Regions from separate parts of the Homo sapiens genome. Here regions 2 and 3 are each linked to region 1. The links are contacts of gene promoters, found by promoter capture Hi-C in blood cells and fetal thymus (Javierre and others, 2016). All regions are on one chromosome and are shown on one strand. The core of a region is centred on a gene start or on the middle of the fragment in contact, and the rest is flanking DNA. Distances in the headings are between cores, read along the strand shown. Region 1 holds the start of CDNF (cerebral dopamine neurotrophic factor). Region 2 overlaps LOC105376435 (a long non-coding RNA gene). Region 3 overlaps FRMD4A (FERM domain containing 4A).

Evidence for each region. The method cuts DNA at HindIII sites, captures the fragments that hold promoters and counts their contacts. A CHiCAGO score of 5 or more calls a contact.
Region 2: a fragment that was not itself captured here is called in contact with the fragment with the promoter of CDNF in region 1 in 1 of 17 cell types (neutrophils); the score reaches 5.6 in neutrophils.
Region 3: a fragment that was not itself captured here is called in contact with the fragment with the promoter of CDNF in region 1 in 1 of 17 cell types (naive CD8 T cells); the score reaches 6.4 in naive CD8 T cells.

Annotation. Positions count from the first base shown.
Region 1 is chr10:14,836,400-14,839,459 of GRCh38, forward strand. CDNF (cerebral dopamine neurotrophic factor) reads right to left here and starts at 1,638. Exons shown (of 4, transcript NM_001029954.3): 1 at 1,433-1,638. The coding sequence starts at 1,547. HSPA14 (heat shock protein family A (Hsp70) member 14) reads left to right here and starts at 1,907. Exons shown (of 14, transcript NM_016299.4): 1 at 1,907-2,060. The coding sequence starts at 2,004. MSANTD7 (Myb/SANT DNA binding domain containing 7) reads left to right here and starts at 1,907. Exons shown (of 5, transcript NM_001378785.1): 1 at 1,907-2,060. RefSeq lists a silencer at 1,691-1,800 and an enhancer at 1,951-2,190. The HindIII fragment of the contact is 8,843 bases long and covers 1-3,060 here.
Region 2 is chr10:16,819,935-16,822,994 of GRCh38, forward strand. It overlaps LOC105376435 (a long non-coding RNA gene), which reads left to right. Exons shown (of 3, transcript XR_930708.3): 3 at 894-1,323. Among named protein-coding and RNA genes, the nearest start is that of RSU1, 4.0 kb to the left of the region's middle. RefSeq lists a silencer at 2,931-3,060. The HindIII fragment of the contact is 1,317 bases long and covers 813-2,129 here.
Region 3 is chr10:13,785,901-13,788,960 of GRCh38, forward strand. All of the region lies in intron 5 of FRMD4A (FERM domain containing 4A), which reads right to left. Among named protein-coding and RNA genes, the nearest start is that of PRPF18, 200 kb to the left of the region's middle. RefSeq lists enhancers at 1,544-1,593, 2,409-2,999. The HindIII fragment of the contact is 4,505 bases long and covers 1-3,060 here.

The DNA of each region.
Region 1 (3,060 bases), core at 388-2,887:
ATGCTGTCTCTCTTGAAACATTTATAAGTGGGAGCCCCAGATGAGTCATCAAATCAATTGTCTTTGCCTCACAAAGTCTGTTTTAAAAGTATAGGACACAATTATAGCATGGTTTGGAGCAAAATTATAACTTAGCTAAACAAATATCTTTATATCGAGTAATAACATGTAGATATTTTAAATTTCTGGAGAAAAGTTTAATTATTGCAGAGCTCATAGAAAGCCAGGCTCCAATTATTAACACTTTAAGGACTGGGCGCTGTGGCTCACGCCTGTAATCCCAGCACTTTGGGAGGCTGAGGCGGGCCGATCACCTGAGGCCAGGAGTTCAAGACCAGTCTGGCCAACATGGTGAAACTGCATCTCTATTAAAAATATAAAAATTAGTCAGGCGTGGTGGTGGTGCCTTTAGTACCAGCTACTTGGGAGGCTGAGGCAGGAGAATCGCTGGAACCCGATGATGGAGGCTGCAGTGAGCCAAGATTGTGCCACTGTACTCCGGCCTGGGCAACACAGTGAGACTGTCTCAAAACAAAAACAAAAACAAAAAACAAAACAACAAAACAAACAAAAACACAACTTTAGTACGACTATACCCATCCATTCACTCAACATATATGATGAACCTACAATTTCCTGTTCACTAGGGATATATTTTCCAGCTGAGGGCATATACATTTAAACTAATTATTTTCAGTAAAACATGGAGTGAGCGCTACAGGAGTCCAGAAGGAAGGGGCTAGCATAGCCACTTACCTTCTTTGCCTTTGCTAACAGATCTCTAAAGTGAAGTACGCTGATTTTGCAAAAACCAAAGTCTCAGAGCTAGGGGACTTGGTGGGATACAGACTCACGTATTCTGACTGCGAGTTCACAGCTGAGATACCGTGAACAAAAAGGAACCACTCTTTTGTATTCCTCTCTTTCCCAAGGAGTCAGTGTACTCCTTTGCAAAGCAATTTTCACCTACAGAGTCCTAACAAATATTAGCTATGTCCTCTGATTTAAGCTACTCAACTCAATGCCATGTTTTGTTTTCCTTTGGGGAGTCACCAACTAGCTTGGACTTGAAAGACGTCTTCTGTGCAAGGGGAGGCAAATCTTGCTGGTTGGAAGCAGCAGAATCAATCTGGCGCCAGTATCATCTGAATCTAGCATTCTTTGCACAAACTCTAATCCAAATACAAACCCACCAGCTTTTACTGCTGAAGTTTAATATTCACAGCAAAACCACAACGTGGCCTCACGTTACCACCAGGCCCGGCTTGAGCTTTTTACTCGAGCTGGGCTTGGGCGATCTAAAACGAGGGACAGGGCCTGCATTTCCTGGGCGGAATGTTATTTATAGCCAGGGCCAGGAGAAGCCAAAGCCGACAGCTGCTGCGCCGCAGCGCGGGGCCGCCGCCATGCAAGCAGTTGTCACACCGCTCACCTTCACAGTCGGCCCCTGGCCGCCCCCCGGCCTCCTGGCCCTGCGTCAGCACCGGGTGAGAGACCAAAAGCCCGGCGCAAAAGGCCACCACAGCAACTGGGCTCGCGCACCACATGCTGGGCCAGCAGCTTCAATCGCCTCCGCCACCCGCGCCCACCGCCCACCAAGCTGCCAAAGCGAGCTGAGCAGAATTCGAGGTTGGAAAGAATCTGCCAGTAGTTGCCAGGACAAATGACGCAACTGAACACAGAGTTTCCATTGGCTCTCAAGGAAGGGATAGGAAGGGGGCGGAGTGTAGGAGCCTTTTCCCGTCCCTCCCCGGTTGCGCGTGCGCACTGTGCAGTTTCCGCGGAGCGCAGAGACGCGCTGAAGCTACTCGCGGACTGCGCGTGAAGAAAGGCGGAACCTTCACGCTGATTGGCGGCGACGCGGGAGGCTGTAGCGGCCGACCGGACGCAGGGGGCTGGCGGGAACGTGAAGCTCCGCGGTGCCTGATGGGGCCGTTGGGCGGCCGGTAGCTGTTGCTGTTGGGGGACCCCCTCATTCCTGCCGCTGCCGTCCCTGCTGCCTCATGGCGGCCATCGGAGTTCACCTGGGCTGCACCTCAGCCTGTGTGGCCGTCTATAAGGTGAGGGGCTGCGGAGCTGGGCTAGGGCTTCATGACGGCCACCCGGTTTTCTGGCGCTGGGTCATCCACAGGCTTGAGAGCGGCGTGTCGCCGGCCTAGGGATGTCGTGGAGTGGCGTTGCCGCGAGGACACTCCGGAGCGAAGGGCCGGGCAGGCCCGGCCTCGCGCCTGGCGATTCCTCCGGAAAGTCGTCTACTCCGCGGCGGAGGCTCGCGGCGATGTAGACGCGCGGGGTCCCAGGGCGTCATGGCGGCGGGATGCCCGGAGGGGTCCCAGGGACGACGTAGCTGCAGGGTGCCCGGGGGGGTCCCGGAGACAGCGGGGCCGCTGGGTGTCCCGGGGGGTCCCGGGGACGGCGGGGCTGCGAGCATTTTGGGGGAGGTCACGGGGACGTCCTGGCCTCTGGATGCCGGAAGGGGTCTCGCTGACGTCAGGGCCTCAGGATTCCCGCGGGTGGGAGGTCCTGGGAAAGTTGTGGCCGCGAGGTACTTGGAGGCGGTGGTCTCTGGGACAGCAGGGCCGCAGAACGCGCTGAGCTGGGCCCGAACGTCTAGGTCCCGGAGGGGCGGGGAGGCTGCAGTCGAGCTGGGGCTGATGGTCCCGCAAAGCTGCCTGGCTGTGAAGCCAGTTGATGGTGCGTGGTCTACAGAGGTGGCCTTTCTGGAAGTGAGAGCCTGACAGGACTTGTGGCCTTTCTCTCATCAGTGGGGAGGCAGAAGAAACGATAATCATGAACTCCGTTGCCACTAGTCCCGCGTTTAAATGTCAAATGACTTGTTAGGAAAAGCCAAAGGGAATAATACTACTTCATTTGTAGAAATGGGAAGAAAGGGGCCCAGCGCGGTGGCTTACGCCTGTAATCCCAGCACTTTGGGAAGCCGAGGCAGGCGGATCACGTGAGGTTAGGAGTTCTAGACCAGCCTGGCTAACATGGTGAAACCCCGCCTCTACTAAAAATACTAAAAATTAGCCGGGAACGCCTGTAATCCCAGCTGCTCAG
Region 2 (3,060 bases), core at 221-2,720, 2.0 Mb after region 1:
ACCAAACTGTTTTTGCTACTCTCCACTGGCTCAACACTTCTGACACCAGAGAATCCCCCACACATGAAACAGTTCTCCAGCAGACACCAGCTCGGTGTCTTACAGTTTAACTTAATTCTGACACTGTCTACCTCAACTTATAGTCAAATCCCACAAGTTAAGGGTTCATTTCCACAAGACTTTAGGTTGACTGTCACCTACACTTCTGACTGACCAGCTATAAATCAGGGTTCCCACACCCCCTTCTCAGGTTTGATTAATTTGCTAGGATGATGGTTAGCCTGTCCAGGGTCCTGATTGCTAGCAGTGAAACTTCATGGTGACACAATTTGGAATCAGGAAACTTATCCCTTGGCCACTAGATCTGGGAAGTTGGCTCAATGTATGTTTCACCAGATAAGAATATTAAGGTTTTTGCCTCAGGACTGGCTCAGGAAATCAAGCAAGATGGAGCTGGGAAGTGTGCTTTGTGAAGCTGGGAGACATCAGCTGATAGTCTTGTATGGCTGTCTTGTTCTCTGCTTTATCCTCAGTGCGCTGAGTACGTATCACATAGCTGATGCTCAATAAACATTTGGAAACAAGTGAATTAAATGTAAAGCAGAACCAGAGGATATACGGTGGGTCTTACGAATGAGAGTACAGTTGACTCTTTTCTCCTTCTTCCAGCTGAATTACTCAAAAACTGAATTACTCAATAACTACTTCCCTTGGCTATACACGAAAATGTCATGCTCCCAAGCCTGACCATCCCTAACCCACTAAAAAATCACTGCTTATTTCCTAGATGCCCAGCCTGGAAGATTTTGTAAAGCTTCATTTTGTCTCTTTTTTTCTGTATTTTTAATTTTAAAATTACATAATAATATTGACTATGCTTTCCTCAATTTCAGGTACACACTTCCCAGATATTCCAATATGCCTCCTAGAAAAGCATGCCCTTCTGAGTGGAAATGATACCGTTACTCTAATGATGCAGTCCATGCTCTAAGCATCATTTTTTTGACAGTGACATCATGTTAATCTTTCTTTCAGAAAAGTACTATGTCATTTCATGTTATTGTTAAACTTTCCCTGTATTCTGTACTTTTGCAATTCATTTTTTGATAAAAGAGGAAGATCTTATATCTGTCACATTTCGTCTGTTACAATTGGCCCATTGTTGTAGCTTATCAAGACCTTTTGGATTTGATGGTGTTACTTATCGCATTCACTGTCCTTTCCAATGTAATTGTCACCCATAAAGTTGATATGTCTATCCATAATACAAAAAGGGAGCAGGAATTGTTGTTGTTGTTGTTTGTTTTTTTGAGATGGAGTCTCATTCTGTAACCCACACTGGAGTGAAGTGGCGCGATGTTGGCTCACTGAAACCTCCGCCTCCTAGGTTCAAGTGATTGTCCAGCCTCAGCCTCCTGAGTAGCTGAATTTTCAAGGTTAGAGTATTTTATTTCTGTGGCTCCATACTCTGTCCAGAAATAATTATCTGCCATTTGAGTATTAGAGTAAGATGAAGTTACATTCCTCAGCTTCTCTCATTCACATGGTCTTTTGTTAATAACCCTTGATTTTGCATAATTAACATAAAGCAAATCTCCTTTGTAAAGGCTTCCGCTTTTCTAGAGGCACTGAAAAACTTTATAAAAGCATTGAATTTTCTTATGAAAAGGAAGCTAATAACTACCTCACTTAGTTACATGTCTGGCAGCATTGGAGATAAGGATGTGCTACTGAACTTTCTACTTCTTGTTAAGTGGCAAACCATATTGTTTATTTATAACTTAACATATTGTGTTAAGGAATAGGCAATGGTGGTGCTTATGGAAACTTTGTACTCCTGAGCGTAAATACATAATAGAGTTTGGATATTTGTCCCTGCTCAAATCTCATGTTGAGTTATAAAAGCCAGTGTTGGAGATCGGCCTGGTGGGAGGTGTTTAGATCGTGGGGGTAGATCCCTCATGAATGGCTTGGGCCATACCCTTGGTGATAAGTGAGCTCTTGCTCTGAGTTCACATGAGAGCTGGCCACTTAAAAGTGTGTGGCACCTGTCCCATACTCTCGCTGTCTTGCTCCTGCTTTCACCGTGTGACATGCCTGTTTCCCCTTCGCCTTCCTCCATGATTATAAGCTTCCTGAGGCTGCCCCAGAAGCCAAGCAGATGTCAGCACCATGTTTCCTATAAAGCCTGCAGAGCTGTGAGCAGATTAAACCTCTTTTCTTTATAAGTTACCCAGTCTCGGGTATTTCTTTATAGCAATGCAAGAATGATCTATTACAGAAAATTGGTACCAGGAGTGGGGTTTTGTTATAAAGATACCTGAAAATGTGGAACTGACTTTGGAACAAGATAATGGGTAGAGGTTGGAAGAGTTTGGAAGGCTCAGAAGACATAAAGATGAGGGAAAATTTGGAACTTCTTAGAGACTGTTTAAAAGTTGCAACTAAAATTCTGATAGTGATATGGATAATGAAGTCCAGGCTGCCAAGGTCTTCGATGGTAATGAGGAACTTAGTGGGAACTGGAGCAAAGGTGACACATATTATGCCTTAGCAAAGAACTTGGCTGCATTCTGTCCATGCCCTAGGGATCTGTGGAAGTTTGAACTAAAGAGTGGCAACCTGGGGTATCTGGTGGAAAAAATTTCTAAGCAGCAAAGTGTTCAAGATTTGGGCTGGCTGCTTCTAATAGCATGTGCTCAGATGTGGGAGCAAAGAAATGACTTCGAATTGGAACTTATATTAAAAAGGAAAGCAGAGTGTAAAAATTTGGAAAATTTACAGCCTGGCCATATGGCAGAGAAAGAAAAAGCTTTTTCAGGAGAGGAATTCAAGCAGGCTGTGAGGCATCCACTTGCTAGAGATATTTGCATAACCAAAAGCCAACTGCTAATATCCAAGATAATGGAGAAAAGTCCCCAAAGGCATTTCAGAAACCTTTGCTGAAACCCCTCCCATCACAGGCCCAGAGGCCTGGGAGGAAAGAATGATTTCATGGACCAGGCCCAGGGCCCTGCTTCCCTGCATAGGCTCAAGACAGGGCTCCCCACGCCCTGGTCA
Region 3 (3,060 bases), core at 250-2,749, 1.1 Mb before region 1:
TCAGAATGATGGTTTCCAGCTTCATCCATGTCCCTACAAAGCACATGAACTCATCCTTTTTTGTGGCCGCATAGTATTCCATGGTGTATATGTGCCACATTTTCTTAATCCAGTCTACCACTGATGGACATTTGGGTTGGTTCCAAGTCTTTGCTGTTGTGAATAGTGCCACAATAAACATACGTGTGCATGTGTCTTTATAGCAGCATGATTTATAATCCTTCAGGTATATACCCAGTAATGGGATGGCTGGGTCAAATGGTATTTCTAATTCTAGATCCTTGAGGAATCGCCACACTGTCTTCCACAATGGTTGAACTAGTTTACAGTCCCACCAACAGTGTAAAAGTGTTCCTATTTCTCCACATCCTCTCCGGCACCTGTTGTTTCCTGACTTTTTAATGATTTGATTTTCAAAAAATAAATCTATATCGTAGCTCATGCCTGTAATCCCAGCACTTTGGGAGGCCAAGATGTGTGGATCAACTGAGGTCAGGAGTTCGAGACCAGCCTGGCCAACATGGTGAAAGCCTGTCTCTACTAAAAATACAAAAAATTAGCCAGGCGTGGTGGCGGACACCCGTAATCCCAGCTACTTGGGAGGCTGAGGCAGGAGAATCGCTTGAACCTGGGAGGCGGAGGTTGCAGTCAGCTGAGATCATGCCATTGCACTCCAGCCTGGGCAACAAAAGCGAAACTCCGTCTCAAAAATAAATAAATAAATCTACATCCTTTGCAAAGGGCCTCTGGCAAAGGGTAGGCAGAATAATAAAAGAAACTAAAGGAAGGAAAAGAAGGAAAAGCGAGGAAAGGGAGAGAAAGGGGAGGCAAGGAAGAGAGAAAGCAATCCTAACACCAGAATATTAACAGAAGCCTCCTGAAGTTGACGGTGGCCTTTGTGCTCTAATGATGATTTTGAGTCTAAATTCATATAAGGTCTGAAATAACTTAATTTTCAAAGTAATGCCATATGTTTCTTAAAAGAATCTCATTTGCTTTAGTTCTTAAAAAGTAAAGAGTAAAGACATCCTGCCTCTTCCACCCCAATTTTCTCCTGAATAGTATATTAAGAAAATATAACGCTTCCCTTTTCGTTTCCACTCTCATATGATGGAAAACTGAATTGAGGTGGCAAATTCTACATCTCTGTGACTGCCTTCATTTCCACCAAGCTCTCTGTTGTCTAGCCATAAAAGGGGCAGAGAAGGTACAGGAAATAACACGCATATTCTGAGATGAAGAGAAAAAAAATCACCTCCTCTCGACGGAAGTGGAAAGCAGTTTCCTGTTAACTTTTATCACCAAGACGACAGCCTGGAAAACCCCGTGAGCTCCGGGCCTGTCATATCATTGTTCTGTTAGGGGAGGGTATGGAGCTCATCCTGAGCTTTCCCTCCCTGCCAGGGAACGGCTGAGTCAAAAACGCCTGCAGAGAAACAGAGCTCAGACCTCTCCACCCGCACGCCCAGAGAGGCATGGTGCACACCGGTGGCACCAGGGACAAGAGCCTCCTGGGAAGATGGGGAGGGCTGAGGGTTTGGATTCAAAGTCAAAATTTTTTTTTCTTTTTTTTCTTTTTGAGATGGGGTCTTGCTCTGTCACTCAGGCTGGAGTGCAGTGTGCAACCACAGTTCACTGCAGCCTCGACCTCCTGGGATCAAGTGACCTGTCTGTCTAAGCCTCCCAGATAGCTGGGACTACAGATATAAGCCACCATGCTGACTAATTTTTTATTTTCTGTCGAGATGGGGTCTCACTATGTTGCCCAGGCTGGTCTTGAACTCCTGAGCTCAAGTAATTATCCTACCCTGACCTCCCAAAGTACTCAGGTTACAGGCCAGCCTCTTCTTCTTTTTTTTTTTTAATCCAGTTTTTGGCTGGGCATAGTTTTTGGCCGGGCATAGTTTTTGGCCGGGCATGCCTGTAATCCCAGCACTTTGGGAGGCCGAGGCAGGCAGATCTGTCTCAAAAAAAAAGAAAAAAAAAAAAAGTGGCTTCTTTTTCTGATTTTCAGGAGAGCCTCAGCAGTAGGTGGCAATGTTGCATTTCCTTAACTACCAGCATGGAGCAGGGAGTGCTTCCAGGGTTCACAAAGAACATTCCAGGTCTCTGGGTAACCAGGGAAATAAATGAAGGCTATGTCTCGGATTCAGAGGGTCTGCATGGACAGTTCCGAGTCTGGCTGTGTATTGACCATGGCTTTATGATGCTTGGATGTCTGTGACCTTGCTGGGCCTGGAGGGACTGCTGGTGCCAGGGTTAGCCAATTTCCAGACCCCAAGACTTCCACATGTCACCATGGATCCAGGGTCCACCCCTCCCACCACCTCTCGGCTCTCACACCCAGGGCCACTATTTCCCTGCCCTCACCACCCTAGGGACACGTACCAGACAACTAGGGGGCAGCCCCCATGCTGCAGAGCCCGCTGAAATTATTTAAACTAGCCAATCCCAAGCCTGCTCTCCCAGCCTTGCCCGTTCCTCCCCAAAGAAACCACAAAAAATGCTCTTGCCCAATTGTTTCCCGGCTCCCCAATGCCTCCCACATGGCCCTGCGTGGCATGGTGTGGCCCCTTCTCCCAGGAACTGAGTGACAATCTTTTCAATGTCTGTCCTCTCCTCATCTGCTGGCCTCACCACAGCTGAATCATAATCAGACCTACATTTTAAACGGGTTTTGGGGGCACACTTAGCAGGACTGAATCTTAGGGCATCTATTTGAGTCTAAAGGAACACTCTAGATGGAGCGCAGACCTTGCTAAGAGGTTTCCTGACTCCACAAGCAACAGCCCACCCAAACTAGCTCAGATGATCCCGACCCGAGAATATTTTATCAGAGAGTCTGAAGGAGAACGAAATAGGTGCTCTGTGTTTATGTGTTTGAGCTTATTAAATATTAAACAGCCTCTAAAGCCTCGGGGAGTCCCGTCCCCTTCTTTGACAAGTGAAAGCCTCTGGTTGCAATAGACTGAACACTGCCTAGTCAGATGGCAAGGGCCCAGCCAGATGACATCAGCCAGGTCTCCTCCTCCATTCTCCCTGCTCTCCCTTTCCCTTCCC